Regions from separate parts of the Homo sapiens genome. Here region 1 is linked to region 2. Evidence: promoter capture Hi-C in 16 types of primary human blood cells and fetal thymus (Javierre and others, 2016). All regions are on one chromosome and are shown on one strand. Each heading gives the region's core, a stretch centred on a gene start or on the middle of the fragment in contact. The rest is flanking DNA. Distances are from core to core; before and after follow the strand shown.

Region 1 (5,205 bases), core at 926-3,425, 910 kb before region 2:
CACAGCTAGTAAATGAGGAGCTTAAATCCAAGCTACAGTCCTGCTCTTTCCCCCCGTGCTGCTAAGCAACAAATGATAAAAACAAAAACTGAAGGCAGTGGAAGTGTCAAGAGGTCACTGCATTTGAACATCCACCAAGAGTTATTGATGATTCTGGCTGATACGCTTTGATTTTCCTTTTTGATTAAAAGTACTGAAGAGAGTTAAGATCTGTACTGTTTACACTTTTTTTGAACTGAATCTTGATCAATTACCTCTTAACCTGGTGAAACACCACTCCTTTGCCTCACAAGGCATGGAGAGATAAATGGCATAAATGGAATAAAAATATCCGTTGAAAGTTTCACTAATAAACTCGTTTCCTGCAGGGTGAAGAGACATTTTAAAGTAAGTGTCCCCTAAGTTGGAACTAACCAAATCGGAGTATGATTGAAAAGAAAGCACTGTTAATGTTCTATAAGTCATATCAAGGAAAAGTCACCTGTAGGTGATACAGGATGGGGGACAGCATGAGACCTATAAAATTTGAAGATAAGGTTACCTTGGAGAATAAAATTACATCCATGAACCTAAAATAAATGAGGTTATGCCTTGATAAAAAATAATTTTTGAAATCCACCCTGTTACAGATTTTGCTTCGGTGACTGCAGAATTTGAAGTAATATTCCAATTCTCATTATGGTGAATAGTGTGTGGATGTAGCTCAGTCGATTCTCTCTTCACTAAGCAAGAATAAAGATTGTGACCTTCAGCATATAAAGGAAGTGTAGAGAATGAGATTGTATCAGTTTCCCATAGGCATCTATAGTTATTCTTGCCCCAGCGGAAGGAATGGCCTCACCCATAGTTATGAGTGTCCAGCCCTCGGGGTATGGATGGTGCAGGTGGTAGCCTCCACGATCATAACTTATTACGCTAGTGTTCACTGCTTTACAAATAGTATGAAATGATTCCTTGTATTACAGTTAAGCTTACCATAATTTAATCATAAGTTAGCTTTGCACATAGATTTAACAATGGGGAAATGATATCTTATCTTGGAACTGTGTAGTTGCTGGACCTGCTGCATAGCTGAGTTTCTTACTATAGATCAGCAAATCAATCTTCTGAACTATAGACCAGGGGTCAGGAAACTTTGTAAAAGGCCAGATAGTAAATATCATAGGCTTGTGGGTCATTGAGTCTTAATTACAACTATGCAATTTTGCTGTCATAGTGCAAAAGCAGCCATAGGCATTACCTAAATGGTTAGTGGTGGTCCTACAGCAGTGGTAGCCACACCGAAGCCCAACATCCCACTGGACTCCCAAAAACCTTCCCTTTCCTGCCTATTTTGATGACTGAACACACTTGGCTTATCAAAGTAGCTGGTTTGGCCTTCAACTCCTCCCTTGTTTCTTCATTTTCCTAGTTCCTCCCACATGGTTTAAGTACTAATTCCTATAATAAATTCCTTGCACCAAAATGTATACGGTTCTACCTCCATGACTGAATCCTGACTGATACAGCATACATTAACAGATGCAAATTTTGGACCTACAGAGTCAAGGGGCGAATATGCTGACCCCATCAAAGTGATGCCATGATGCAAGCCAGGCTCTGGTGAGCAGCTGGCTCTGTAGGTGGCATCCTTCTCTGGTGAGTCTGTGGATGCCATGGTGTGTCCACAAATTTGCATACAAGGAGACACTGGATGTAGTCACAGGAATGTCTGCAATTGGGTCACAGGAATGTGGTCCAATCCCAGCTTTGCAAGTGATCTTGGCCAAGTTTCTTAATCCTTCTGGTGATGTTTTTCATATCCAAAATATGAAGGAGTGAGTGGTAGACTAATCACAAGTATTTGATACCTTTTTCCTGAGGGAGGATTATCCCTCTTTGTCTCCCTGTCCTGTTCAATGTAGGTATGGCCGAATGACTTCTTCTAGTTAATGAAATGTGACAGTAAGCCATATGTAGCTTTAAGAACCGCCTTCTCTCTCTCACTGTTGTGACAAGCAACAGTTCCAGAGAGAGACAGCTCTGTCAGCCAGTCCCAGAGTGAAGGTGATGTGTAGTGGAGCTGGAGCTGCCTCTATGGACATCTAGCCTGAGTAAGAACTCAATCTTTGTGGCTGTAAGCTGCAGAAATGTTGAGATCACTTGCCACTTCAGCATGACTTAGGCTATCCTGACTGGTACAGGATTAAACTATATGTTCCTTCTACATCTCAAACACTTGATTGAGTTTGTAACAAACTTTGAGATGAATTTATTTAATTAGCAATACATATGGAATTGTTTTGTAAAATGCTTATAGATACACATAAAACAGAAGCCTAGTATAGCTCCTCAAAATTAGTTCACAGAAATACATGCAATACAATAATCCTTACCTTAGCCCTTTGTTCACATGCTGCCTAAAATCTGCATAATACCAAATATCTCAAATGACTGAATTTTGAAATCAACAGACTGAATTGATAAAGTTAGAGCCACACAGATACCATTTATGTTCCCTCCTTACAAAACACTAGCTAATTATTTTTATTTTCTACTGTCTTCTTAATATAACTCCCTCAGCTTTGAGCTGAGGAATTCATACATGGGGCTTATCAACTTCAAACAGTAGCAATTCAGAAACATTAATTAACTGTGTGGTATGTATTTACATTTTTTAGGTTGTTACCCGGAACTTTCTCAATTTAAACATTTAAAATAGTAACTTGATTAAGAATCAGTCCCTTAAAATTGAAAAAATAGCAACTTAGCACCGATTCACTGTTTTTCTTTTCAGCTAGTCACTTGGAAAATAAAGATGAAAAAGAAAAGAAGATAACACCAGATGAAAGGCAAAAGGGAAATAAATATTAATAAAATATCATTGAGAACAAGGAGATTATGCATAAATATGATTTTCCCAAACCTTTGCAATGAATGAGTATTCTCTGACGTTGATGCAACTTACACCCAAGTCCTTCATTAAGGAATATAGGGGATGCAATTTGTTTTATGGGCTTTTTGCTGTTGTTATTTTCTGCCTCCTCATCCTGAAATGCTCAGCAGTGCCAAATGTGCTGCAATGTCATTGAGCAGCATGTTGTAAAACAATACACTCCATGTTTATTCAGTGAGAATTTGCACTGGGGAGCATTTAAGGCTGAGGCTTTCTAACTGAGGAATGAACAAAGACATGGCATTATCATTTATCTAACTTCACCACGTTCCAGCAAATGAAAACATGGCAGCTTCTCAGTGGCAGGGAATCCATTTTGAAGTGAAATATTGCAAGTGGTTAAATAAACAGAACTTTCTGTGTTGCATTCAGCCCAATTTTGATCATCTGACCCCTACCCCTTTTTTCGGAAACCTAAAATGATTCCCAATTTCTTTCAAGCTTGGAACTAAAATTCCATTCCCTGCTGGCCCTTGCCTAAATCCTTTCTGTTCTCACAATGTAGACAACATTCCTACTCTCTCTTGGAAAAACTACATCCCACTGCTTCAGAATAGTCATCAGGTCTTGATGCAAACATGAAGCTTTCATAGATTCAACATTCATTTATTCATTCTACATTCATTCTACAAACATTTACTGAATGCCTGCTACATGTTAGGCAATATACTCAATTATGGATCCAATAATTAGCAGGGCAGACCTTGTCCCTACCCTCATGGAGCTCATGAACTGGGGAGGAAGAAGAAAAATATTCAAATAAGCATACAAATATAAATGTAAAACTTTTTCCCAAGGAAGAGAAGACAGAGCTGAGATCCAAAGGATAAGAAGGGAGGCAGGTAACTCAGGTGAAGGGAGAAGGAAGATCCCCCTAAACACAGAGGATGGCATATGCAAAGGTCCTGTGGCATATACACAGAAAATCACAACATAAAATGTTGAAATGATAAACAAGAAGAAAAAGAGTAAAGGCTTATTATTTCACATACATTCTTACATTTTTCTCAATCCTTTGACTTATATGTTCACCTTTTTTCAAGAATCTATATCCCATCTTAGGCACTCATGCTAATTTATCATAAGCTAAATGGACATAATCCCAATAAAAAATGCCAGCAAAGTCAAAGCGAATGCAACGTCTGTGCCCATGGAGTTCATGGAAATCGTGGAACAATGTGGCAGATAGACAAGTACATCACCAGTGGGGGTATAGTAAGAATATTGCCACATAAAAGCTGTGTACAAAAGGCTGTGCAGACACAGAGGCAACAAAATAATACCTGGGGCAAAAAACACTAATCAGAGACTCATCCTAGCAGAAGTGCACCTTAAGCTGTGTGGTGTAGGGCTGGTGAAGGTGGTGGGGAGGTGAGGAAGGTAATCTTGACAGATGGAATAGTCTGTGCTATCACAAACAAAGGCATGATGACCTTCCTGGACCTTCCAGGTAGCCAAAAATTTGTATTTAAGAGTGGCAGCAGAGGAGACACAAGAGGGTGGCCAGGGCCTTAGGTAAAGAAATGCCTTAAAAGTTTCTTTTCTTAAGTAGATAAGTCTAAACAACGTAGTAAGGGTTTAATACTAACAGCTCAGTACCTATTTTTAAAAGTCATACATATAAAGGGAAAAATAATACCTACATTTCACTCTTAAATAACCACAATTATTTGGTAATGGGATGGTGGTCCTGTTGGCGCTGTGCAAATCCTCAAACCTTTGAACCAGCTCGGCCCCTGCCGCCCATGTTTCCTTTTCCACATGGATTGTCATTCTGCATATGCTTTTTAATCACAGCAATAGTCATGAACTCAACTTGGAAATAACGTAGCATCAAGAAAAGGAACGTTGCATGATCTAATTTTGAAACTGTAGACTGCCTTTAAACTAATAGTTACCAGGATGCCCAACAAATGTTAAAGAACTGCATTTTTTTCAAATGTTACAGTATCCTGTCCAACCCCCATGCAATTGCTATGGAGCCTTGGGTGCCTTGGAGTATTGGGAAGCACATGCTAAGGTAATCAGGCTTCATCCTGAAAACTCTGAGGAGCCTCTAAGATCTCTAATCAGAGGGAAGGAGTGTATGCTATGGTCAGTTGTGTGTGTGTGAATCTTTCTGGCAGGATGTGCAAAAAGTTACAAAGAAATTTTAAAAACCTTAAAGTCTCAAGGAGACCAGTGCAGTGGTTCAGCTGAGAAGTGACAGAAAATGGTGGCTGGGAGAGAGTAGAGAAGACAGTACCACAGAAGCTCTTGGGCTGTCACCC
Region 2 (5,698 bases), core at 729-3,228:
TTCACCAATTGATTTTTCTTTTCTGTTTAAGGCCTGCCTGAATGAAGACGAAACTGATTAAATATGGCTATAAACCCACAGGAATTTGACCAGGCAAAAATTTTCTTTTTTAAACAGAACCAACTCCTATCTGAAAATGGCTTCTAGAAATAATTATTTAATAAAATAATTTAATCCATGTCTTTGTTTCATAGTAACAGAAAAATATCCACCTCCCTTTCCTCCCAAAATTCAGCTGCTGCATATCAGTTTAATTGTACTACCTAGCAGTTCAAAGAAATTGGCTTTTCAATGGACATTAGAATCTAAAACTCCTAGATTTAATGGGTCTGTCCTCTGAGGCCCACAAAAGTGCAATCATAGAACAATAGGGTCAATACATTTCTTATCAAGGGTTCACCTACTTTGATATCACCCATTCTTGGAAGGGAACTCAGGTCAAACTGTTATCAAACAAATATATAAATAGATAAACTAAATGAAGCTAATGAAGAGACCACAATCAAATAGTCCTGGGAAAGACTATTAGCTGGCCTTCTTCAGAAATAAACATGCAGGGAAAAATTGAGAAAGGACAAAGGAGAAGGTCATGCACCTCTAAGAATAGAGCAAATAAAGATATTAGTTTAAGACAACGGTCCTCCAGGTAAATATAAAAGCTAAGTTCTTACCACCAACATGAACAAGTGAAATACACTTATTTGATGGAAAACTTACGGGCACAAAGCAATTGTTGACCAAATAGCAGAAACCAGTCTACAAAAATCATAATTAAAAATACAAGTATAATTCTGTTAATTAGGCATAGAAATTTATAATCTCCACGTCTTACAATTGTCCAGTGTTTATTCATGTACCTAAATTAAACTAAAATAATTTCAATCCAGGCAAACCACCCTGAAAGATTTTTTTCTTAAGATGTTTATATCTAAACCCATGCTCAGATCAGCAAAAACATTTAGAAAGGAAAATATTCTATTAAATTTTTTAAAAACATTTTATTGGGGGATCGTTAAATATAAATAATCCATTTTAAATAATATAAACACGTAGCAGAAGTACATAAAACATACTTTCATTTTCTAAAACATAGAGAACAGTAACTTCTTCGCCTCCAAAAGAACAGACCATTTAATACCATTTAAAAAAATCTTTTGGCATTCCTATTGCCCTTCCCATAACTAAATGAATCAGTGACACGTGTATATATATACATATATTGGAGATGGAGTTTCGTTCTTGTTGCCCAGGCTGGAGTGCAATGGTGCAATCTTGGCTCACTGCAACCTCTGCCTCCCGGGTTCAAGTGATTCTCCTGCCTCAGCCTCCCAAACAGCTGGGATTACGGGCGCCCAGCTAATTTTTTCTACATGTTGGTCAGGCTGGTCTCGAACTCCTGACCTCAGGTGATCCTCCCACCTCGGCCTCCCAAAGTGCCGGAATTAGAGGCGTGAGCCACCACACCCAGCCCTGATGTATATATTTGAATCTGCTGTTTATTCATATGTTGAATAAACATTCACAGTTGGGATTACTGGCATACATCTTCCACAATTATAACATTATTTTAGCTAGTGAATAATAAAACTAATTTGATTTTGGTTAACTTCTTTTCAATACAGATGGTTTAAAAATAAGACAAAGCCTGTCTTTTTCTATTGTGATCTTAAAAATATCTTTCTAACATGCTTTTTAAAAAAAATACATAAGTATGCTACCACTGCCTTGTAGTAAACTTTAGAAAATGTTGAGATTCCAAAGGGCTGCCTACAAACCAAATGGCATCCTAGCTTTGGCAGGCTGATGCTTCATTTTGGCTGCTCTCGCCCCCTCTAGCGTTTGCAAAGCTCATCTGTCTGATTATCCAGTTACCTCACTGAACAAGATCTTGGCTAAGTCCTGCCCATCTATGACATCACCCCCTTCTTCAGCCACTGCGAGGTGAAGCTTTAAACTTCAGACTTGGAGGTGGGCTGTGTGCAGTAAACTGGAATGCTCTCCCTCGCTCACTCCTCAGTGTAGGAGTGATCTGAAGCAGGACAAGCTCAGCCTGCAGCTGCCGTGGGCTTTGTGTGGACTGGACGCAGAGCTTGGGAGACGGGGGAGGGCTATTACTCCAATTCACTGTCAATGGAATTACAGCTATAGCGGCAGTGTATATAGGATTGCTTTTTCTCGTCTTCCTGGTAAGTGTTTTCCATGTTTTTTCTTATGATTGTCCCAGAAAGTTTGCTTGGTTTTACTCTCTAGAAAGAAACGACTTGATACTATGAGAAATCCAAATAGGAACGTTTGCTCTGTCACCACAACAAGCAATATATGTGCGTGCAAGCCAGCAATGAAAAATTTCACTATCATGGCTGAATGTAAGAAGTTTCTTAGAACCTTCTTTCATTTATAAAAGATAGTAAGTGGCTATTTTCTGTCTTGAGTAATTGCTATGTGAAAAGAGCCTTATGGAAAACAGCAAGTTGGAAAGTTCAATGTTAAATATTAAAGAATACAAGGAGATTCTTCACAGATAGGAAAGCAACTTGGTGTGTACTGTACGTGTGGGATGATCACCAATTGCTGTTTTTACAACTGTGAAAGAAAATCAATAATCCCTCAGCCCATGAGTACGCAGTACATGAAAAGCATACATCTTGCTCACAGCTAGCCGAGCTACTCCTGGAGACTTATGTGCCTCTGTAAAGGATTAACAGCTACACCTAGATTTTAAAGCTTGCACTGCTATCGTGCCTGAGCTGCTTCAAGCATTTCAGGCTTGCAAATCTCAACTAGTAAATTGAACTCAGAGGAGGGGGAGACACTCTTCCAAACCATATTCCCTCTTCAATAGAACACCAAAATCCATTGCTTAGGCAAGTGAAGTATGTGACTAGCATAGTAAATGGCTAAGTCTACTCAGAAAAACTAACAAAGCTCACCCTGGAAGCTATGCCTGATGTATGCAGTGAGTTTGGGGTAGCAGGAAAGAAAAATAAATGAGTAGAGCCCTTATCAAGTGGGTTTTGCAGAGGATCCATTCTTTGCAACTTATAATAGGAAAATCTTATATTGGAAGAAATGCATTTATACTACAAAGCTTGAAAAAGTAGTTAAATGTATCTTCTCAAAAAATTTTGTTCACTGAATTAGGTCTGAAACAAAATGGTTGCATATAGGTAAAGAGTGCAACAGGCCCATCCATGTCTTCTCAACATCTGGGGGGTTTGTTTTTATTATTTTATTTAGAATTTAAAAGAAAAAAAATTGATTTTTTTTTCAATTTTTAGTCCAAAATCTCTAATGGTTTTAATAATAAGGCTATTTTAAACATTCTTAATAAATCTGTCTATTAATAAATCTGTCTAAAATGCTCATCTATGTTATTTTATTATCCAGAAACAACATAAATAAAGCCACTAGAAAAGTCCTTCAGCTGTAGCAATGCCTTTCATTTATCTCTGACTGCATAAAAATATCCTGACCAGCCTAAACATAAAGAATAAATTTGCTTATATTCAGGGAGAATCACTTATACCTGACCCAAAGTGACAGATGACTAATATTCATCTCTTCCGAAATGAGTAAAGAAAAATTAATCCTTTAAAAGTGCCACAATCAATAATATCAACATTACCAACTACTACAAATATTAATGATAATATGCCAGGTTTTACCATGGGAAAATTAAATCAGAGATATGCCCCTTAGTTTGGACACATATATATACACACAGACAAACGCACATCTATTTATTACCCTGAAATAAAAACAGAGTTACAAAAACGCATAGATTTACTAAGAAAACTAAAATTTGATTTTTTGAAGAGCACAACCAAAACACATCAAGTCCAAGGATCAGCAAAATATTAGTGAATGAATAAACATAATGAATTCATTAATATTGCGGTTCTGTAAAACTGTCTACCAGTTACTAATTGGGTTTTTCATTTCGCTGCACCCCACCCTTTAAAATCAATTATGACTGGGTTCAAAATGCACAATTAAACACTTCCCAAACATAACGTTTGTGAGATATATAATTGGATAGCAAATAAAGTTTTTACAAAAAGAAGAAAAACAGTAAGAAAATCTGTCATAACTAAATGTGGCAGCAAAATAGAAGGTATGTTTCTTTTGCTTTCAAGTGTTAATTAAGGAGCCTACAATTCTATCAAAACTTTTTCAGAGCTAAATGAAGCAGTGTGAAATAAATTTGGTTGAAATCTTGTGGCTGTCAGACTTTGTTAGCAAGCTATTAATTATCTTTACCCCAGTTTCTTCTCTAGACTATATTGCCCAATCAAATAGAAACTCCAATTATGCTCAGCATCTCCTGCCTAGGGACACAAGACCCTAATGAACACTCAGTCTCTCTAGATGAAAAATACAATAATCAGCTTTAAACATGCAAGTGCACTGCAGAGAGATTTTTCTGTGCTTTTCTTGGCCACACACCCTAAGGCTTCCTCCTTTTTCTGGATTATTTTGAACAGTTTTAAGCCCTACAAAAATCAGTGCAGGGAATTGGCCTTGTCTTAATAATATATTAATGTTTCTTCTTTCTTGCTTTTCATTTTTGATATGCCAATGTTCATACCAATATTAAATCTGGTCAATGAAAAAGTATTGGTTTATAGTTGCCATTTCAGTCATTTCTTAACTTCTATGCCTCTTTTTAAGGTGGGTGGGCTATATAACAAAGAATGTGATTGATTAATGGCAAAATCCAGAGCTAACTTAAAAATTCTGAATAGATCCCCTTATATATTCTTTTATTCAAACCCATTTATTTAAAAAAAAAAAGCATTAGAAATAACTGTTTAAATCAAATGAAGACTACCATAAATAAAGTCAACAATGGAAATAAGATTCAGTAATTTTTCAAAGGCCATAATTTCTCCCCTCCGTCTTTCCTCCTTCCCCCTTCCCTCCCACCCCCCACCTTTTGCCCCAGAGGCCTTCACTGTTCTTCTCAACGGGAGGCTTTGTTGTAATTAAACCAGAGAAAAACTGGCCAGCAGCAGCCAACATCTGACTTGCGGCTTCAGAAAGCAGTGTTCTGGTAGAGTGTACCACCCCCCAGTGGGCAAAAACTCTACAGTAAAAATCTCTCAGCAATATTAATCCTCAAAACTGCATTTTCTCTTCAGAGCATAAAAAGGGATGTTTCTCAGCTCCTTCTAACATTCCACCATTTCAAAAATTTACTGAAAGTCAACAAATAAATTTCCAACAAAGAGTTGGTCTTCTGAAACAGCATTCTTCCTCTTAAGAAAATAGGTATACACATTTCAAAAAGTATTTTCCAGTTTCAAAATACAGATCGACATCACTCAATTTGGTTAAACATCACACTAAAAGACAGTTTTCAAAGCTATGTTTATGTTGTGTAAGAAAGAACTTTGAGTTATCTATTTACGAAAACCCCAGAGAAAACAGATTTTAAGTAGAAAGCAATAGAATATAATTTAAGCAAAAGCTAAAATTTCATTTGTTTTGCATATGCATAATCTCTTTCCTACCCTAAAATCAAGTGTCAGGGATGTATAAAAAGCTTTCTGCAGGTATTATTCTGTTTAAATCAAAGGAGGGAGAAATTGCTCTCACTCGATGAGACAATGACAGCTTTTGTTCTTTATTCTTTCACTTTACATGTGCACAAGTTACCGAGGCAACTTTGAAGAGAAAACCCACAGACCACATTTGG

What was found. Contacts are between HindIII fragments. The CHiCAGO score rates a contact against its expected background, and 5 or more counts as called.
Region 1: a contact is called between a fragment that was not itself captured here and the fragment with the promoter of FLRT3 in region 2, in 2 of 17 cell types (megakaryocytes and endothelial precursors). The highest score is 6.7, in megakaryocytes.

The regions. Positions count from the first base shown.
Region 1 is chr20:15,249,276-15,254,480 of GRCh38, reverse strand. All of the region lies in intron 6 of MACROD2 (mono-ADP ribosylhydrolase 2), which reads right to left. Among named protein-coding and RNA genes, the nearest start is that of MACROD2-AS1, 320 kb to the right of the region's middle. The HindIII fragment of the contact is 2,406 bases long and covers 973-3,378 here.
Region 2 is chr20:14,333,892-14,339,589 of GRCh38, reverse strand. It overlaps FLRT3 (fibronectin leucine rich transmembrane protein 3), which reads left to right and starts at 1,978. Exons shown (of 3, transcript NM_198391.3): 1 at 1,978-2,186. All of the region lies in intron 3 of MACROD2 (mono-ADP ribosylhydrolase 2), which reads right to left. The HindIII fragment of the contact is 777 bases long and covers 1,950-2,726 here.